Regions from separate parts of the Homo sapiens genome. Here region 2 is linked to region 1. Evidence: promoter capture Hi-C in human tissues and cell types (Jung and others, 2019). All regions are on one chromosome and are shown on one strand. Each heading gives the region's core, a stretch centred on a gene start or on the middle of the fragment in contact. The rest is flanking DNA. Distances are from core to core; before and after follow the strand shown.

Region 1 (5,823 bases), core at 2,066-4,565:
TGGTTCTAACTATGTGGGCTCTGTCTGCTTAACTTCCTGAGGAAAAAGAAAGCTGTCACTTTGCTGGTTATTTGCAAAACTGCTTACCCCAGGGGCTTTTGTGGGGAGAAAGATTGTTTACAAAACTGAAAAACAAAAGTCATTTCAGTATATAAGAGCACTTTCCATTCTTGTAGGAGAGAGTCATGCTGCCAATGACTTACATTATCTGTTTTATTTTCATCTCTATTGAGGGGCATTCAAATCTCTCTTCCTCTGTGCAAATGTAGGGGATCCAAAACTATCCTCTGTGATCATTTGGATTGTTAATCTCTCCAGGGTTTCTTCAACATTCTCAAGGCAGTTTCTGGCACCAAAGGGAAAATGGAGAAGTTGAGATGCAATTTTATTTCCCAATTGAACTTGATTAAATGGGGACTGTTCTAATCAAAAGTTTGAATCCTGGGGGAGTGCGATGTTGTTAACAGGTTTGAGAATATTGCAGAAGAACAGGGAGGAAGTATACTAAAGTCAAGGCAGAGAACGAATCAGGCAAGAAAATAATTGTAGTAAAGCTTATTAAGGCATAAAATTAGGTGAACAAATTGCTTCACAGATAGTGTTAAGCTCATTGCTAGACCGGCAAAGGAAGTGGAAGAAAGCTCTTTGAAAACATTATTTTTATTATTTTAATAATTTGTGTGGGAATCATAGTAGCTGCTATATGTTAGGGAGAAACAATTGCCAGCTGGTGTCATCGTGGAGTAACTATAGTAGACTGAATGCAAGTATGTTTTGCCTTTTTACCTGGAGAGCGTTCAATTTTAGAAAGTTTCTATTCATTTTTGCCTGAATGTGAGGTCTGCCCTTGTAGATAAGGAAGGCTGTTTATTGTGTGATTTAAGAGCTTTGATTAGGTTCACACCAAGTTCCACAACTGTAATAGGGAGACCACACCTGGGACAGACTGTATTTACACGACCAAAGTTACCTATTATTAAAAAATGAATTTTTGAGTAAATGCCTGAATTGTCTGTGTAATTGCCTTGATTCTATGCATTGTTTTCCTTGTGGTTACCTCAAGGAAATGGAGTCACTTCAGTAGCTATTTTACTGAAAATAAAACGAGATTTTCGGAGATAATGTTCTTTGAAAAGTGTTAAAGGTACACTTATTTATGGAAATACACGTTTTGTTAGCAATGTAGCTGCTACATGTTTGTCGTACATTTTATTTTTACAATTCTCCTAAGTGATTTAACAATTATATAATCATTTTATGATTGTTATTGTTATTTTTCCCTCTTTCTTGAAACTAATAGACTAAGTGACAAAATACTGCAGGATGTAGAATTGCTCAGCTTTGCCTATAAAGTCAGGAGGAGAGATAACATAATTTAATTATTCTATTGCAATTCTGTTGTCTCTTCTTGCCTCTTGACTCAAATGGTCTCAAGAGGGGAGAGAGGAAATTATGGGCTCTGTTGTTGATGTTTGTTGAACTTCTTCAGTGACTGTATTTTCGGGATGTTAGCAGTTTCTAATTTGGCTTTGCTTTCACCTAACTTTCCTTGCTTCAGTTTCCTCATCTCTGAAATGGGATATTATACTTCTCTTATCTCCTTAGAGTGTTGTTCTGAGAAGCAAATGAAATAATGGCTAGGAGAGTGCTTTCCACTATACAAACTACCACTAGCATTCTGGTTATCCATTTTGGTAGCTAATAAGGTGATGTTTATCCATGTGATATCAAGCAATTTTATAGGAAATGAGAAGCTTCTTCAATAAGGTGATATAAAAAGGTATAATGATGTTTTACTTAACTAAAGCAGAGGTATGTGTATATTAAGCAGACACATTCAGAAAATAATTGTTGGGCTTTTGTTTTATCACAGTTTCTTGCTGTGGAGTGGGGTGTGATGCCATTAATAGGATTTCAAACTTAAGTGAGAGAAAAAGAAATAGAATCAAATAAGCTTTAAAGAAGCTGATTCATCTCACCCAACACCTTTTCTACTGATATAGCCTCCTACATATTAGGAAAGGCAAGGGTTGGAGTTGTTTAAAGAGTTGAAAACGGGAAAGGAAATAGAGGAGGGAAGTTTTATTGAGAAGAATTCCACCTGTCTAAACAAGGAAAATAGTATCCTATGGGCAAACTTTAGCATCCCTGAAAGAGCCCTGGATCTTCACTGATGGCTGCAGAGGGGACACCCTGATAAATAGATGACATCGACAGAGTGTCTCAGGAAGAAACAAGTGCATGGATTCATAAAAAGGCCAGATGGGACGGTGGGCTGCTATGAAATATTATAGCACACCTGTGGAATACGGTAGTGTAGCTGGGAGGGACACATTGGTCTGGGCCAGGGAATCACACTGCATTGTCCTCACACATTGCCTTTAACACATTGCCACTCTCCACTCGGAAAATAGGTCGAGCAGGTCTAGGGACTGTGGTAGGGCAGTTACAACAATTTGATCGTATATCTTTTCACTATCTGAAAAACAGAAGTTGTTATTGAGCAAAGATTTAGTTCTGGGGTAATACTAAATGCAACATCTAGATGTTTGAAAAATAAAGTTTCCAAAAAACATCTGCATACAAATTAGGGCTTATGAAATATAGGCAAGCTTAAGTGTTATCTTCCACCATTGTTGGGAAGGAATAAATCTTGAACATTTAGGAGTTCAACGTCTATTAGTAGAATGATTTTTTTAGGAGGTGATCCCTAAACTCCTTTTTATGTTCTAAGTACTGCATGGTTGAGGGCTGGACTGTCTAGTGCTGAAAGAAAGTGTGTATTGAACATAGAGCCTGATACACAGTTAGGCGCTTAATGGTTAATTGATGCTGGTTGAATACAGTTGTATAGTTGGACGCACCAAGTTTGTTATTAAGGGAGGACCACCATAAAACTCGAACACCAGTTAGAATGTCTTGGGTAGAAATTCACAGCAGTCTGGAGCCACGTTCCCCTGCTGAGAAGGGAACTGCCAACCCGTGTAAAGTCTGGTCTAGTGAGTGTTCCCGGGAGTGTGCAGGTGTTATTCCTGAAAATAAGGCCGGCCACTACCAGACAGAGAAGCTGCCCATTTTAAGGTGTCAGATCAACGCCAGCGACGCTTACCTCGGGGCCTCCTCTCGCCCCACCTTTGCCTTTCTGCCAAATCTCTCCTTGCTCCCGGCCGAAGGGATTCCCACCCCCAGCTGCCTCCTCCGAGCCCCGCGGAGCAGCGGACTCCTCCCCTGGAAACTCCTCCGGGGCTGGGGGAGGCTTTGGCGCATGCTCCGTACCTAGGGCAGGTTTTTGCTGCGGGTAGCAGGGCTCCTGTCACACCGGCTGGCGGGTTGTGGCGGTGCCAGCCTGTGTGTGCGAGTGTGTCTGCGTGCCTGCGCCTGGGCGGACAGCCCGGAGCGGCAGTGCGACTCGCCGGGAGAGGCGTCTCCGCAGAGGCGCCTCGCCCGCTGCCGCTGCGCTGCGGGGGCCGCTCTGCAAACTTGCGGCGAGCGCCGTCAGCCCTCGCGGCTCCACAGCCCCGCGACCTGCCGGCAAAGGCGCCGGGCGCGCGTGCCGGGCGCGGTGCCCGCGGCCGGCCGGGGCGGCGGGAGCGGGCCGCGCCTTCGCCCTTGGCCGGCGCCCTGGCGAGCCTCATGCAGCCCCGGCGCTCGCGGCCGCAGCTACCCGGCTGCCCGGCTGCGCGCGGCAGGTCCAGGACCCGAACCCCGCTCCCCAGCGCCTGAGCGCCTGCAAGCCGCCGGCGGGATGCCGCGCGTCGCCTGAGAGAGCCGCGCCGGGGCGGGAGCAGGGAGCGGGCCGGCCCGGGCGCACCCGGGAGCGCAGGGCGCCCCACGCCGCAGCCGCAGCCGAGCGCGCCGGCGCCCGCCTCCCCCGCCCGGCTCGCAGGCCCCGGCTCCTCAAGCCCCGAGGGCCGCGGGGCCGCCAGCCAGCCACACGCCTCGGCGTCAGGGGCATGGAGGAACGGCGGGCTCCGAGCCGCGCCCCGGAGTCCGCGAAACTTCCGAGCGGGCGCCCGTCCGCCCTGCCGCCGCCGCCGCCGCCGCTTCGCCTGCCGGCCTGAGAGCGGGACCATGGATGAAAGGTTCAACAAGTGGCTGCTGACGCCGGTGCTCACTCTCCTCTTCGTGGTCATCATGTACCAGTACGTGTCCCCCTCCTGCACCAGCTCCTGCACCAACTTCGGGGAGCAGCCCCGCGCGGGGGAGGCCGGCCCGCCCGCCGTCCCGGGTCCCGCCCGCCGGGCTCAGGCGCCGCCGGAGGAGTGGGAGCGGCGGCCCCAGTTGCCCCCGCCGCCCCGGGGGCCCCCCGAGGGACCTCGGGGGGCCGCGGCGCCGGAGGAGGAGGACGAGGAGCCCGGAGACCCCCGGGAGGGGGAGGAAGAGGAGGAGGAAGACGAGCCGGACCCCGAGGCCCCGGAAAACGGCTCCCTGCCCCGATTCGTGCCGCGCTTCAACTTCAGCCTGAAGGACCTGACCCGCTTCGTGGATTTCAACATCAAAGGGCGCGACGTGATCGTGTTCCTCCACATCCAGAAGACGGGGGGCACCACTTTCGGCCGGCACCTGGTGAAGAACATCCGGCTGGAGCAGCCTTGTAGCTGCAAAGCGGGTCAGAAGAAGTGCACCTGCCACCGGCCTGGCAAGAAGGAGACGTGGCTCTTCTCCCGCTTCTCCACCGGCTGGAGCTGCGGGCTGCACGCCGACTGGACGGAGCTCACCAACTGCGTGCCGGCCATCATGGAGAAGAAGGACTGTCCCCGCAACCACAGCCACACCAGGTACTGTCGCCCGCTGGGTCTCTGTTCTTCCCCCCCACCCCCCATCCCTCTTCCTCAGTCCTGACCCAGAGCGACCCCGCGCTCCCTGCCCCTGCCGATGGTTTCCTGGCGTCTTCAGCGGTTGGCGCCGTGGCTTTGGGGAGGGATGAGAAACCTCCGGATAGTGCCTAGGTCCTGAACTCGTTCTTCCCCCAGCCCCCACCGCTTCCCGCCACCCCTCTGCCTTCACCCTCTAAGATGTGCGGAGCCACCGTGTGGATCCTGCCTGTTGCCTAGCACGGCCTGGCCTCCCTCCCAGTGGACGCTGGAAAAACGCCCTGAAATGGGGAGCGGATCGCGGTCTGGGTTAGACCAGCCTTGTAGAATTGTGAACTTAAGTTTTGGGAGTGTAAACCCAAACCCAGGAAAAGGAAGGGGGAGTAGAGAGGCAAGGCACGAGTTTTCCAGGCGTGGTGAAGCTGGAGACGAGTATAATCCCTCCCTAAGTGGCTTTTGGATGGCAGCTCAGGAAACAGTCAATCCTCTTGATGCCACTTTGAAGACACACGTGCAAATTCCTGTTCTACCGCGATAGATAACTCTAATTCTGGAGATGGTCTTTGTTGCCCAGCAGTGCCAGGATTTGGACTCACCTGTCCTCAGAAAGATTTCCATGCTCTTCCTAGGCCATTACATCAACTTATTCCAAAAGTATGTTAAATGCCTACAGGGTGCCTGACAGTGTGCTAGGTGTTAAGTGAGTATAAAGATAACATAACATCCCTTGTTTTCAGGATGGAATGACATTCTTGATCCCCTGCCTCCCAGCCTTAAAAAACAGTAATACAGTGGAGAATTAAGAAAGTTAAAAATCTTAATAGCCAATGAAACTGCTTACATTATTAACATGCTTTGAGAGAGACATGGGCTTAATAATTTGGTTGAAGGTCCTTTCTGCCCATTGCAATTTGAAGATTAATCTGACATGCTTGCTAAAGGACGAAAATATTAAAAGCTTGGAACACTAGTTCATTGAAGTTTTTATCTTAAAGGTTTCAAACAATTT
Region 2 (5,570 bases), core at 1,817-4,316, 44 kb after region 1:
ACTGCTTATAAAAGGATTTGCATTTAATGAATTTCTGTGCAGCTTTCTCTGAGCTCTTTATCCTATCCTTCCTAGTCTGGAACTTCCTCCTTCAATTATTGCTGCTTTCAGATTTTCAACCTCTTCTTCTCTGATGGCTCATTCCTTGCAGTTATTAGAAATGTCCAAGCCTTACCCATTTTGCCAAACCCTAAGATACCCTCTGCTGGCCCTGCAGCCCTGCTCAGCTACCTGCATTCTTAACGCTGTTCCCTCCCACTACCAAGCAGAGTATTTGAGGGCCAGGGGGTGTCAGGGACTGCGTGAGCGACTGCCATGGCAAGTGTACTGTTTCTGATCTTTCTAGGCTTTCCTCAGCTCACTGCCCTCAGCTTTCCATTAAAACTGCCTTGAAATCCTTTGCCAGAAACTGTAAGTCTTGGAAGGTCAAATCTTCACATCTGCTGCCTTTGAGCTGAACTCAAAACAAGTCATTAACTACATGTAAGAGAAGAGTATATTTTACTTTACTAAAGAAACTCTTCTATTCATTGAAACTGCTTCCATTTATTCTTTAGAATGTTTTTCTTTGTTTATTAGTCTACTTAAGGCTTAGGATATTTTTTCTTTTAAACAAATTAAAAAAAATCTTACTGGTTGAAGTTAAACATTTTATTGAGGTTTACTTTTTTTAAAAAAACTTAAAAAAATTGACACAATTGTATGTATTTATGATGTACTCATGACGTTTTGAAATATGTATGTTGTGGAATGACTAAATAAATCTAATTAACATTATGTATTACCATACATGCTTATCATTTATTTGTAGTGAGAATGCCTAAAATCTACTTTTCTAGCAATTTTCAAGTATATAATACATTGTTATTAACTATAGTCACTAAGTTAAGTTTCTTGACCTTATTCCTCCCATCTAATTGAAATTTTGTATCCTTTGATCAGATCAACATCTCCCTAGTCTCCTCTCCCTCCCCTAACTCCTGGTAACCACTATTCTACTCTTTTTTTTTTTTAATCACATATCATTTATTACCTAGAAAATAAAATGTCTAAGATAGATAATGGCGTGGAGACCATCTAATTATTTTTAAATTTGTAACCTGACAAACGTCACAAAATTGTTAGGAAGTTTTCACTAAGCCTTATATCATGGAAAAGATAAAAAAAAAGGTAAAAACTTTTATATGGTACTCTACTTTTTATAAAACATTACACTCTGAGTTCAATTTTTTTAGATTCCACATATAAATGAGATCATGTGGTACTTGTCTTTGTGTGTCTGGCTTATTTTATATAACATAATGTCCTCTAGGTTCATCCATGTTTTTGCAAATGACAAGATTTCCTTCCGTTTTTCAGACTGAATAGTATTCCAGTACACACACACACACACACACACACACACACACACACACACACACACACACAGAGCGCATTTTCTTTTTCCATTCATCTGTTGATAGACATGTGGGTTAATTCTGTATCTTAGCTATTACGAATAGTTCTACAAGGAACATGGGAGTGCAGATATATTTTCAATATATTGATTTCCTTTCTTTTGGATATAGCCCCAGTAATGGGATTGTGAGATCATATGGTAGTTCTATTTTTAATTTTTGAGGAACCTCCATACTGTTTTCTAAAATGGCTGAATTTTTTCTTTTTCTTTTTTTTTTTTAAGACAGGGTCTTGCTCTGTCACCCAGGCTGGAGTGCAGTGGCACACAATCACAGCTCACTACAGCCTCGACCTTACAGGCCCAAGCAGTCTTTCAGCTCAGCCTCTTGAGTGGCTGGGACCACAGGCGTATGCCACTATGCCTGTCTAATTTTTAAGTTTTTTGTAGAGATGGGGTCCCACTATGTTGCCCAGGCTGGTCTTGAATTCCTGGCCTCAAGTGATCCTCCCACCTCAGCCTCCCAAAGTGCTGGGATTGCAGGTATGAGCCACTGCACCCCCCAGCTAATGGCTGTATTAATTTATACTCCCCATCAATAGTGTACAGGTGTCCCTTTTTCTCCACATTCTCACTAACCCTTGTTATCTTTTGTCTTTTTGTTAGTAGCCATTATAACAGGTGTGAGGTAATATCTCATTGTGGCTTTAATTTGCATTTCCCTGACGATTAGTAATGTGGAGCATTATTTTATATACATGTTGGCTACTTGTATGTTTTTTGAGAAATGCCTCTTCAGACATGTTTATTTGCCCATTTTTTTTTAATCGGGTTATTTGTTTTCTTGCTATTGAATCTTTTGAGTGCCTTTTATATTTGGATATTAACTCATAATATACATGGTTCTCAAATATTTTCTCCCATTCTGTGGATTGTCTCTTGACCTTATTGTTTCCTTTGCTGTGTAGAAGCTTTTTAATTAATTAATTAATTATTATTATTTTTTGAGATGGAGTTTCGCTTTTTTGCCCAGGCTGGAATGCAGTGGCCCAATCTCAGCTCACTGCAACCTCCGCCTTCCGGTTTCAAGTGATTCTCCTGCGTCAGCCTCCGAGTAGCTGGGATTACAGGTGCCCACCACCATGCCTGGATAATTTTTGTATTTTTTGCAGAGATGGAGTTTTACTATGTTGGCCAGGCTGGTCTTGAACTCCTGACCTCGTGATCCGCCCGCCTCGGTCTCCCAAAGTGCTGGAATTACAGGCGTGAGCCACTGCACCTGACCTATTATCTTTTTTTTGAGATGGAGTCTCACTCTGTTGCCCAGGCAGGAGTGCAGTGGTGCAATCTTGGCTCACTGGAACCTCTGCCTCCTGGGTTCAAAGGATTCTCCTGCCACAGCCGCCAGAGTAGGTGGGACTACAGGTGTGCACCACCATGGCTGGCTGATTTTTGTATTTTTAGTAGAATCGGGGTTTCGCCATGTTGGCCAGGCTGGACTCGAACTCCTGACCTCAGGTGATTTGCCCGCCTTGGCCTCCCAAAGTGCTGGGATTACAGGTGTGAGCCACTCTGCCTGGCCCTGTGCAGAAGCTTTTTAGTTTGGAGTAATCTCATTTGTCTATTTTTACTTTTGTTGCCTGTGCTTTTGTGATCATAGACAAAAAAAATCATTGTCCAGAGCAACTCTTTGAGCTTTTATGTTTTTTTTTTTTTTTTTAGTAGTTTTACAGTTTCAGGTCTTACATTTAAGTCTTTAATCCATTTTGAGTTGATTAAATGGATTAAAACATGTAATCCATTTTGAGTTGATTTTTGTATGATGTGAGGCAAAGGTCCAATTTCATTCTTCTGCATACAGATATCCTGTTTTCTCAACATCATTTAATGAAGAGACTGTCCTTTCCCCATTGTTTATTTTTGGCATCTTTGTTGAAATCCAGTTGACTGTAAGTTCATGGATTTATTTCTGGGCTCTCTATTCTGTTCCATTGGTCTGTGTGTCTGTTTTTTTGCCAGCCCCTTGCTGTTTTGATTGCCATTTACTTTTGTTGTTCTTTTATTTCTTTATCTTATGAATTTTAGAAAAGTTGAAACTTTTTTTATATTTGTCTTATTACAGTTACACTCTTAAATGTCTCAGCTTATGGCTTTATGTATTTTAATATCTTTTTCTAATACTTTTAATACTTTATATGGTAATTTTTCACTTGTGTTATTTTTTTACCCCCTCTTTTTTGGTGTCATGGTTTTACCTTTATTTATCTTCTTTTCATTTTCTGTATTTAATATTTTTTATTTTGCTCTTTTTCTGATTTTTATTTTTTACCTATTTCCATTTTAACAGTGTCATAATTTTTTCTTTTTATTTCTAAGCTCTTGGTAACTATTGTATAGACTTTACTTTTACTAGCTATTTGCATTGTAATATTCAAAACCCTTTCATGTTTATTTATTTATCTATTGTTTTCCTGATATATTCCATTTCTTTATTATTTCTTAAAATTAAAGACACACAAGCATTTTGTTGGTGATGAAAATTACAAGGACATTCTTGCCTCTGTAGTCTTGGATGTTTTTGTCCTGACCGTCTCTCACAGTTGCTCTTTTGGGTTTGCAGAATCTCTCTCCATATGCCTAGTGTGAATTCTCCAGGTAAAATGAAATCATCATGGATACCCCTAGAATTGCATGTGACACATTTTTGATCCAAGAATAATAGTTTTCTTTATGGAAGGGGCATATTTTATATTAGAATTAGAGTTTTTCTTTTCTTGCATCCCATATTGGTCAGTTGTATATTAGACTCTGCACAGTCTCACATCCATTCTGTCTGACACAGTCATTGGGACCTGCAAGTTTCTCAGCACTGCGCCACATTACTGAAAGAAGAGGTCAGAGGGGAAGGCTGCTCCTGAGACCTGGCATTGCTGAAGAAACTTCTAAAAGACCATTCTGGAAGGAGGCTGTATAGTGAGATCACAGTCATGCTCCTGAAATCTGTTCTACCTCACCCTGCCTTGCATGTTGAGTTGGACCTGCCACCCTTCTTAGCAGGTTTATGGGAGACTGCTGGGTGTGTTGATCTTCTTCCTTCATTCCCATGTGTCCCAGGAACACGTGGGCTGCAGTTATCACCGTGGACTTTCTTTCCTTTTTTAAAGAAAATACAAACTTGGACAAATAAAAGTAGAACTCTACTGCTCTCTGTTATGGTAAGAACACACAGTGAATCATAAGTCTGGTCTTAGACATATACTTTAAAAATAGAATGGTGAGGTAACTTAAAAATCATGTCATATGAGGAACAGTTGAAGGAATATTGAGTCTAATTATAAGAGGAATTTAAAGAAAATTTGTTTGCTATTGGCGGTATCCCTAGGGCTGTCATGGAAGAGGAGTTTGCTAACTAGGGCAGAACTAGATGCAATGGGTGGAATTTACAGGGATCCAAGTTTTTCTGTGTTTATGGAGAAAAACAATTCAAATGTGAAAACTGTTAAACCACACGGCATACTGCTTCAGAGCGGACCAAGATGGGCTAATAGGGCCGTTGTTAGGGAGGTGTTGTGCCTATTAACTTCAGCAGGGATGGTGCCCGGTTCAAGAGGCCAGAGACCCACAGCCAGTGAATTAGGCATAGAGTTTTATTGAGGACTTACAGGGATGGCTCAGTGGTAGCAGGACAGAAGAACCACTACCACTTATAAAAAGCATGCAGTTTATATAGCATTTTCACTGAGCACCTCCACCCCCACCAACAAACTACACCTGGCAACCTTCACTTACCCCAAAAGAAAGGGCCTCTCTCCCCTGTGCAGCCTGCATTCCACCGGTGGGCTCAGATATTTCTCATAGATAAGGAATGAATCTTCTGATTGGCCACACTTGGAACTCCCAACACACATTCAGGTGTGTCTGCCGTATAGGGTCATTCTGAGGGTATGCTTAAGGTAAGTTATCACCGTCAGGTGCACCTACAATACACAGGTTTGTTTACCCTATAGGAGGTTAGAAGTTTCTGTGATTCTTTGACCTTGTGTTCATTTTACCTCTGGCCTTAAATTGGATTTTTAAAGAAAATAAATTTTATTGTGTATTGTATTAGTTTATTCTTCTATAAAACAATACTTGAGACTGGGTAATTTATAAAGAAAAGAGGTTTAATTGGCTC

The links. The method cuts DNA at HindIII sites, captures the fragments that hold promoters and counts their contacts. A contact is called where the count stands out against the background at its distance.
Region 2: a contact is called between a fragment that was not itself captured here and the fragment with the promoter of HS6ST3 in region 1, in 1 of the 25 tissues and cell types used here (dorsolateral prefrontal cortex).

What each region holds. Positions count from the first base shown.
Region 1 is chr13:96,086,792-96,092,614 of GRCh38, forward strand. It overlaps HS6ST3 (heparan sulfate 6-O-sulfotransferase 3), which reads left to right and starts at 3,316. Exons shown (of 2, transcript NM_153456.4): 1 at 3,316-4,778. The coding sequence starts at 4,072. RefSeq lists enhancers at 2,639-3,139, 3,140-3,640. The HindIII fragment of the contact is 5,364 bases long and covers 2,284-5,823 here.
Region 2 is chr13:96,130,745-96,136,314 of GRCh38, forward strand. The region is part of intron 1 of HS6ST3 (heparan sulfate 6-O-sulfotransferase 3); the gene reads left to right. Among named protein-coding and RNA genes, the nearest start is that of HS6ST3, 43 kb to the left of the region's middle. The HindIII fragment of the contact is 3,967 bases long and covers 1,084-5,050 here.